Linked DNA regions of Homo sapiens: region 1 is linked to region 2. Evidence: promoter capture Hi-C in 16 types of primary human blood cells and fetal thymus (Javierre and others, 2016). All regions are on one chromosome and are shown on one strand. The core of a region is centred on a gene start or on the middle of the fragment in contact, and the rest is flanking DNA. Distances in the headings are between cores, read along the strand shown.

The links. Contacts are between HindIII fragments. The CHiCAGO score rates a contact against its expected background, and 5 or more counts as called.
Region 1: a contact is called between a fragment that was not itself captured here and the fragment with the promoter of JADE2 in region 2, in 1 of 17 cell types (total CD8 T cells). The highest score is 6.3, in total CD8 T cells.

What each region holds. Positions count from the first base shown.
Region 1 is chr5:133,965,833-133,970,513 of GRCh38, forward strand. C5orf15 (chromosome 5 open reading frame 15) reads right to left here and starts at 2,793. Exons shown (of 3, transcript NM_020199.3): 1 at 2,614-2,793. The coding sequence starts at 2,752. It overlaps LOC105379183 (a long non-coding RNA gene), which reads left to right and starts at 2,857. Exons shown (of 2, transcript NR_134247.1): 1 at 2,857-2,960; 2 at 3,919-4,391. RefSeq lists enhancers at 1,987-2,086, 2,717-2,936. The HindIII fragment of the contact is 3,928 bases long and covers 1-3,733 here.
Region 2 is chr5:134,522,422-134,527,334 of GRCh38, forward strand. It overlaps JADE2 (jade family PHD finger 2), which reads left to right and starts at 3,249. Exons shown (of 12, transcript NM_001388185.1): 1 at 3,249-3,590. LOC124901070 (a long non-coding RNA gene) reads right to left here and starts at 3,181. Exons shown (of 3, transcript XR_007058942.1): 1 at 3,045-3,181; 2 at 2,485-2,662; 3 at 192-1,623. RefSeq lists silencers at 2,019-2,338, 2,919-2,968, 2,989-3,208, 3,339-3,418, 3,449-3,708 and 1 more. The HindIII fragment of the contact is 6,085 bases long and covers 797-4,913 here.

The sequences.
Region 1 (4,681 bases), core at 520-3,019, 560 kb before region 2:
GAGGACTGCTTGAGCCCAGGAGGCGGAAGTTGCAATGGGCCAAGTTTGTGCTACTGCACTCCAGCCTGGGCGACAGAGCAAAACCCTGTCTCAAACAAACAAACAAAAAAGGCTGGGCACAGTGGCTCAGGCCTGTAATCCCAGCACTTTGGGAGGCCAAGGCGGGCGGATCACGAGGTCAGGAGATTGAGACCATCCTGGATAACACGGTGAAACCCCGTCTCTACTAAAAATACAAAAACTAGCCAGGTGTGGTGCGCGCCTGTAGTCCCAGCATACTCGGGAGGCTGAGGCAGAAGAATCACTTGAAACCGGGAGGCGGAGGTTGCAATGAGCCGAGATCACGCCACTGCACTCCAGCCTCGCGACAGACTCAAAAAAAAAACAAAAAACAAAACTTTATAAATTTAATTCTCCCCTTCTACTGGTCCCTTTTTAAAAACTGCCCTAAAATAAAACTATATCAGCATTTCTTAAACTTAAGAATGCAGAGGACCCCGAGAACTCATTCACACACTGGTTTGAGAAACAATGCCTTAAAAATGAAATGCATTATACATTAAGTTTAGGTGATCATTTGGGGACAATATAATGGCAAATGTAGAGAACCAGGCATTTTTGAAATGGCATGACCAAGAATTAGTCACCCAGTGATCCAAACTGCTTATGTTAATTTTTTAGACTTGATCAAAACAAAAACATAAAACAAAAATTCTTACAGACTGACGAGCATATAACCAAGCATTGACAGTTTTTAAAACCTAATATGGAACAAATTTAAATAAATCTAATGTGGTAACCTTCTACCTTTGTAAACTCACTTGAAATTTGGAACTCAACACATTCTAGACTAATTTTCTTATTACAGGAGTGACTACTTTGAAATTATAAGGTATGCTTACAAAAAATACTTATATCCCAAGCTACACTGTAGTGCAGTGGAGCTGCTCGCCTATTAAAGACATGTATGTTCGTTTTCATTTAGCTTCTTTTCAGGACAGAATAATCTGAATTTATGACATTTTAAACTGGTGTATGTAAAGACTTAATTTAAAAGATAAAGATTCTCTAAAATGTCTCAGTATAGTTAGAAAAATATTTATAGGGCTCTAACAAATAAAAGCAGAGACTAAAGGACACTTAACAGTCCACATTCTGCCTCACTTCTTGCCCAATTTTCAACCATCTCTTAGGGGAAAAAAGCTGTTTCTGAAACTACAGTTGCCAGATATATATCCCTTAAGCATTCCAGCAGGAAATATAAATGTTTGTGTTTTATTTTTCTTAGATGATTAAATGGCCAAAACAATTAAGCTACTTAAGTACTTTAGGAACGGGAATATCTGCATCAACCAGGGAAATCCTCATTACATTTCACTAATGATAAAAGGGCCTTAGGAAATGGACAGCAGTCCTTCCTCAGGGACTGCAAAGACTTCTGGGAGGGCGTCCAGTTAGCAACACTGAAATGTTGCTGAGGAAACATAAGTATGTACCCACAGTACTGTCGCAGAGGAATGTAGGGCTGGACAGGCCCTGCTGGCAAGAAAGAAAACACTATACCAGGTCACACTGTTTTGCAGCTGAAAATTCAAATTTAGGGAGAAACGCAGGACTGTGTCTTGGCCTGAAAGAAAAATGGGACTACTAAACAAAATACCGTTTAATCCTTACAAGTTCTTAATAGTGGATTTTTCCCACCAAGTATCAGGCACTGGTTTACAGATTTCCTAATTTCTCAATAAAAGCCTTCAATCTCTTGATTTCACCATGCAACATTTGCAAGAAATGAAATATTTTATCAATCAAATCCTACAGATGCATTAAAACGAGGCAGGGTTATCCTGGTTAACTCGGAACACAGGGAAGAGGAATCATGATCTCCCTTGTCTCCAAACTCCTCTCTGCCTCCCAAGCCTTCAGGGGCCCAACGCCCCAGTACTCTGAATCTTTATCAAACACCAGAACCTCCCAGTCTTCAAATATGCACCAGTACCCTAAGACAGCTCTTTCCCTTTCACTTTCCCTCTCGGAAATATTCCATTGGTTCAGTCCAGTCACTGGATTACTGCCCCTGCCCGCCTCGGTCTTTACCACTGACCTCTCCCATTCTGGAAAACCCCCACCTTTCCTTGGTCCTGCAAGATTCCTGAGTCCCCCAAACTCAGGACCCTTTCCAGACACCACACCCCCAGCCCCGGCCACCTCCTCAGCCCCTGTCGCCACCCTCTCTTCCAGAGTCTCCTAACTTTCCGATCCAAGAAATTTTGGAGACCCCACCACCGCCATTCCTTGCGGCAGCCCATTCTTCAACGATCTCTAGGCGCTAACACCACTCCTCCCTCCCCGCCCATCTACACACCCTGCTGCCTGCTCCCTGGGTTCCTGCATCTCTCAGGGACCCCGCTTCTCAGGCCCCTTGGAGACCCTACCACCTTGGACCCCTTCAGACACCATACCCTCCGTCCTCAGGCCCGCGGAGACCCTGACCCAACCAGACACCGCCGTCTGCTCCTGACACTTGGAAGCGCCCTTTCCCTGGCCCGGCCTGTCTCCTGCCCTGCGCCCGAGCCCTCCTAGCCTTCCTAAGCCCACACTGCCGCCCCCCTTTACCACTGGATAGAGCGGCGGACACAAGCAGGAGCGCCAAGACCAGCGGCCGCGCCAACCCCACAAGGGCTTGGATGGCCGACCCGGGCAGCAGTTTCGCTTGTGCTGGCCCCCTCATCCTCTTCGGGACGGCAGCGGCCATAACGGACTCGGCTGGGAGCCTGCGCTGTTGCTAGGCTCTACGCCATGAGGTCAGACGCCGCGGCCCTCGGCACATACGTCCCAGCGTGGTGACGTCGAAGCCTGGAGACGTGCTCTGGAAACCGGAATAAGAAGGAAGGATTGCAGGGAGGAGGGAGTTGCCGCTAGGCGAAAGTGGGGACCGCCACACAGTTGGCTGCGGATTAAAGGTAGGGTGTGACGTGCTGAAGAGGGCCAAAGCGAGCCCCTCCCTGCCGCCTGCATGATTGGGTACTATACAGCCAAAAATAGCGTTTTTAGCCATTTTAAAAAGGAAGATCCAGCTGTAGAACAGACTGATCACGAAAGCGAAGTAACTGCTCTTCCTCTCTCAAAGGCGAAAGAAACACAAATGTTAAGTAGTCCTATTTCGGTGATGGGATTATAAGTAATTTTTAAAAATCTTTCCCGACAGTCATTTATTTTTTTTCAACAAAGATTTAGCACCTCTCCCTATTTAAGATACAGCAGTGAACAAAAAGAACCCCCCACCCCCCCGCCCGCCTTGGCAGTTTATTTTCTTGTGAGGGCGAATATGGTGTAAAATACACACTATACAAGATGATAAAGATATTATGGACCGGCCCTAGTGCAGTGGCTCCCAGCACTTTGGGAGGCCGAGGAGGGCAGATCACCTGAGGTCCGGAGTTGGAGACCAGCCTGGCCAACATGGAGAAACCCCGACTCTACTAAAAATACAAAAATTAGCCAGGCGTGGTGGCGCGTGCCTGTAATCGCAGCTACTCGGGAGGCTGAGGTAGGAGAATCGCTGTAACCCGGGAGGTGGAGGCTGCAGGGAGCCGAGATGCCACTGCACTCTAGCCTGGGCCACAGACTCCGTCTCAAAAAAAAAAAAAAAATTATGGAGGAAAAGAAAGGAAGGTAGCTAGGAAGTAGAGGTGAGGGGCTGCCATTGAAAATAACTTTCAGATTTCCTAAAATAAGCTTCTCTTTTTAAATTTTGTTACTTGAAATCCCCAGTGTATAAAAATGCAAACTTACAAACTTCCAAGAAGTTCACCTAGGGCCCTGGCGCCATACTTTGCTCTGTGTGTACGTTCTGTAAATGTCTCCTTAATAAACAGATACAGGCTTCAATTCATAAAAGTTCCATTTGATCAATTTCAGGAAAATCAATGTGACGTTAAGCAAGACATTTATTGTGCCCACAGCTTCACCATTCTGGTCTCTATGATTCCCTGCGAAGATTGCTGTTATCCCCCAGAGACACAGCTGAGCTGTCTCTCTAAAGGGCCTGTGTTCTACTCCTGAATCTGGTTTCCCCTAAGCTTTTATCTCACCCTGGTGACAGCTCAGAAACACACAAACTCTGTGTTAAGAAAACTAAGAAGTCATTCATCTGCACATTTCCCGAAATCCCCCAGAAGCCCGTATTAGACTGAATGGTGTCCTTATTGCAAACTCTCCACTTTAGCCAAGGTGCAAAGTCCTCCCAGTCCCCCAGGAGCTTCCCTTCTCTGAGCGGTACTTAAGTTTTCTGTAAAACCACTCAGTTCAACAAATGAGCTTCTCAATCTTAGTTTCTGCTTGTTGACTTTAAAGTTAATCTATAATAAACACACTGCAGTCCTCTTCCCTGACTCATTGTCCACTTTGTCCATTTGTGTCCTCATACCAGATTGTCTCAATTCTCTTAACTGGTGAGATATTATGAACTCAAAGCATTTTGCACAATGATATTCCAACATGCTGCATGCAACAAGCAGACAATAAGTAACTAGTGAGGGAAATATTCCCTCATACTCAAGAGAACCCTTTATACATTTTTAAATATTTTAGGGCCAGGCTTATGCCTGTAATCCCAAGTACTCGGGAGGCTGAGATGGGAGGATCACAGGAGCCCAGGAGTTCAAGGCTGCAGTGAGCTATG
Region 2 (4,913 bases), core at 1,999-4,498:
TGTGTGTGTGTGTGTGCTGTGTCCCCAACACCAAGAATGGTCTCTGGCATACGGGAGGCTTGTTGAAAAACAATGAAGGATTACATCTCCAAGAACTCTCTTTCTTCTCATTTCTTTCCTGTAAAAAGTTAATGAATGATTACGTCCAAAGCAGAGATTGTGGAAAAAGGAAAAAAAAAAAAGTTAATGAATGATTTGTGAGACTTTTAATAAAGATTAAGGAGTTACAATTAGCTTTATCGTTATCATTCTGTTAAAGCTTCCAAGGTTAACCTTAAACAGCAGCAGAGAACTGTGGGAATCCAAGGATTTTGATAGGGCTTCCAGTCCTAAGCAAGAGGTATTTTCAAGGGCTCATTAGAAGGCCTGGGTCTCACCCCAAGTCAGGGAACCACCTCAGAAGCAAAGTGCTGCTCATAAAATTCTTTCTTGCCAAGACAGCAATCAGATCCCCCCATCCCCAATCAAACCAATAATAGTAATACTTTTTATTTCTGGCAGTGTGGTAAAATAGAAACTACATAGGTCTCAAGGTCAGCTAGACCTAGGAGCCAATTCTGCCAGCACTTACTAGCTGTGTGGCTGTGGTAAGTTACTAAACCTTTCTGAAAAGGGAGGAAGGGGTTTGGGGGAGGATGAGATAGAATGGCTCACAAAGTGACCAGTACACTGCAGGTGCACTTTAAATGGTCACACTTCCCTCATCCATCTCTGGAGGTCATCTCTTTAGACTGTGCCACTGTAAACTGGTACCCTCACTCCCACCCCGGAATGGACATCTGGACCTTGACCATCAAGCTTCAGAGAACAATTTCACCCTTCCAAAATAAAAAAAACCCACTTAGGTACCAGGCAAGGTGCTAATGAGCACTATGCACCCTGTGCCAGTTGCTGCTTTACACATACCACCTGTATATGTACGTACATACATATATGTGTATGTGCACACATGGCCTCAAGAACCCTCCAACCACCCCATTCTACCCAAAAGGAAAAAGCGATCCAGGGAGATGAATTCACTTGCCCACATCACACAGCTTCTGAAATGCAAAGCCAGGATTAGAACCTAAGTATTTAACTATTTTGTTACACACTCCAAGTCTGCAGCACCTGTTTCCAGACTCTGAGCTTGGCTAGAGAAAAATACCACCAATTGACCACTGAGAGCCACAGCCAGGTCTAACTGGAAGGTAATACCCAGACCATCCTCTTGCCAGACAATTCTCCTCAGACTTTGTGAATGAAGGCCAAGGAAGAAGAAATGTTGCAGTGACTCCCTTTGAGCTCATATTTCTTTCTTGTTGCAAAAACTGCTTATTTCAGCATTCATCATCTCCCTCTTTGTTGGGTAGACAATCCGCCCTGTCGGAGGATTTGTGCTGTTATTATGAGTTTGTTTATTATTAGATTTATTTCTCCTATAAGCAAATGTGTTCACAACATTCCATCGGGGAATCTTCTTAATTGTCACATAAATGTCATCTTATGTAAATTGAATATTTATCTTCCCATGGAAGGGGGTGGAGGGGAAAGGAAGAATAAACAATCTTCAGTCTTGGAGAGGGAAGGCGACTCCGGTGTCCATTCACAACTCACCCACGTGCCTTCAAAGCCAAAGGTGAGCTGAAAAATTATTGGATAATCTGAGGGGCAGCCGACCATGAGGGGGAAGAAAAAGTTGGCCACGATGCTTTGGGGATGTTGGGCCAGGCTCCCCACAACCTCCTCCCGAGGCCAGACCCACCCCCTCCCCAGCTAGAGGCATTCCGAGGAGGTTGGAGCTTGACCCCCGATTCCTCCCCAACCAGGAGGCCAGTCCTTCTCCTTCCTCGAGAGAAGGTGAGCTCGGCGGGCGCAGCGGGTTGGGTGGGTGTGGCCCGCGGCTCCGGGAACAGACCCAAGGCCCCGCCACCGCCGGCTAGCAGCCCGACAGCCCGCCCGCCTGGCGAGCGCAGGCTCTTCTTCCAGAAACTGCGAGGATCCGAGCGTACTGTTTGTGCACCACAAGGTCAAGTCGGGAAGTGGAGCCGGAGGAGGAGGGGCGAGGAGGCGAAGGGTGGGGAGAGGGGCGCCCCGCTTCCTCGCCATGTGCCAGCCTTTGGAAGTTACCCCTCGGTTTTTAACCCTTTCGGGGTAATGGGAAGGAAGAGCAAGGAGGAAGGGGTCGCCCCGGGGCAAAATCCTGCTGGGGCCAGGATGTGCAACCACCCACCCACCCGCTCATCACTGCCTTCTCCACCCCCCGGAAATGCGGGGCAGCGCTAGGCGCCAGGAGGCACCCGGGAGGGGGGAGGGGGCGACGAGCCCAATGGGGACCCTCTCTACGGACCGCCCCTCTTTTCTTGAGGTCGCCTACAATTTCAAGTTCCCCCGCCCGGAATGTTAGTTTTCCATTTGGAGTGGGTGCGGGGAGGAGGGCCGCGCCCCCTCCCCAAGACTCGCGTTCGCCCCTCCACTCCCCTCCTGCCAGCACTTTCTGCTCACTTCTGGTGCTGCAAAACGCCACGCAATTTATTCGATTCGCATTTTAAAACCAGCGATTCAGAAGCAGGGCCTAGGGCGAGGGTCTTCCAGCGCTGGAGCCCCGGGGGGCGGGGTGCTCAGTGCAAACCTCGTTCCCTCCGCGAGTGTCGCCTCCAGGCTGTTATTTGCAAAGAAACGTCTTTTTGACGCAGGGAGAAATGGCAAATTTTAAGTACGTCATTAATATGGCGCCAAAAGATTTTTTTAAGTATAAGCTCGCTTTTTTTTTTTTTTAAGGTTGCGGGGGGCGCCGCCCGGGTCTGGGGCGCGTAGGGGGCGGGGTGTGAGCAGAAAGTGTGAGTGAAAGAGTGGAGGGGCGGGGTATGTGTGTGAGTGTGTGAAGTGTGAGCAGACCTGATGGGACTTGCACGGGCGCAGCCGCCGCTCGGGCCCGGCCCTGGGGACAGGGCGGGCTAGGGGCGCCCCAGAGTCCATGGGGAGTCCGGGCCCAGGGTGCCAGCAGGCGTGGTGGTGGGGCTGCGAGGGAGGGCACCCTTCCCCCACGGGGCCCGCAACGCTACCTGGACTCCCCGCCGGAGCCAAACAACTGGGCGGGGGGTTGGGGGGGCGGCGACGGGGGTGTCGGGAGCGGAGATCCGAGTGAATAAGAAAAAAGTGGCTACTCCCCCTCCCTCGCTCCTCCTGCCCGCCCCCACCCCACCCCCACCCCAACACATTTTTTTTTTCTAAAGAGATCACAAGGAAGTCTTGGTTTAAAAAGAAACAGAAACATACACAGGGGGTTGGTGAATGGTGCCGACCGCGGCCATCGCAGTTGGAGGCTATTTTTTGGGGGGGGTGAGTAGCGTCCATGGAGTTACTTTGCGCCCACTCCTAGCGGCACCGGCTTAGGTCCTGCGGGCCGACCGTCCCCGGCGGGGGGCGTGGGGCCTGGGACGCCGCGGGCCCGGCCGCCTCCCTCGCCGCGACCCCGGATGGATGCGCGCCCCCCGCCCTCCCGCGCCGGCCCCAGGAGCTCCCGGCTTCGGGAGCATCCTTCCCGCGCCGGTCCCTGCAGCGGCGCGTAGCCGAGGGCAGCGCCCGTCAGGGGGGCACCGCGGAGCAAGGTAAGATCCAGCCCCCGGCGGATGGGCCCTGCGCATCTCCACGACGTTATTTGGCGTTTTTGCAACAGATCTGCCAGCGCTCTTCGCTCCCTCGCTCTCTCTTGCTCGCTCGCTCCCTCTCTCTCCTGCTGGCTGCCTGTTCTAGGAAGCCAGCGCGGAGAGGGGGGGGATGCACAGCACAGGGGAGAGAGATTGCGCATGTTGGTCAGTCGTGTTTTAAAGAGTACAGTGCGGGGAGGCTGAGAGGGGCGCATGCAACAACAACTTTTGGAAGGGTGAGCTTGGCGACCTTCTTTATTAATGACTGCGGCAAAGCGCCCCCGGGCCGGCGAGGGGGCGCGGGCGGGCGGGGGCGCGCCAGGGCTGCAACTTCCCCGCGGGCTCCGGCCGGGCGTAGGGGCTGCGGCGGGAGATGGGTACGGTGGGGAGGTCGAGCGGCCCGGGCGGGGGCTCCGAGAACCTGGAGCTATCTGCCCTCCTGTCTCCCCGAGTTTCATTTTGTTGATACGCAGCACGTCCGGGCGCCGAACCGGGCTGAGCCGGTGCACATGACCTCGCGCTGGGCTCACGTGCAGCCGGTCCGGTCCCAGACACCTTCCGGGGGCCACCGCCTCCGCCCTGTCGCCCCCTCTCCCGGCCCGGTGCACGCGGGCGCTGCACGCGGGGGCAGCATGCTCGGCTCCTGGGGTTGGAGGCTCTGCACAAATTAGACAGTTTTTTTGGAGGGGCGGGGGACACCCTTTCCAGGTGAGTGTGGAGGGTGCGGAGCCTCGGCGCCAGGGGTGAGGACTGGGGTCGGGGGCAGCCTCCACCTCCGGGGCCGCGCGGTAGTCCAGCTGGGGAGAGGCGCTGGGAGAGTGGAAATGTACCGGCGGCGGCCGGAGCGGCGGGTGCGCGCCCGCGGGGCGACGGCAGGGGGCGTGGCCCTTGTTTACCTTCTCCCAACTCTGCCGGTTCGCGTCCCGCTTCAGGGACGGATCCGCAGTCCCCAGCCCTCTGCCTAGGGCCCTGCACCATGGGTGGTACCAGGAAGATGCCGGCTTGTGGCGGACCCCGTTTGGGACGCACACACCTGACTCTCAAATGAGTGACATTGCAGCCCCCGCCCCCACCTAGCGCTGCTGCAGTCCCTTTGCCGGATCCCCGGCCCCGCCCCGCCCCCGGCAGTGGCATCTTCCCGGCCTCACCTCCTTCCTCCCTCTCCCTCCCTTCTTCCCACCCACTCGCCTGCGCCTGCGGAGCGGCGCCCGCCCGCCTCCTCCCCGCCTGGGTGCAGACTTGTGGCTCCCCATGGTTTCTTCCCGCCCATCCCTGGGTCCTGAG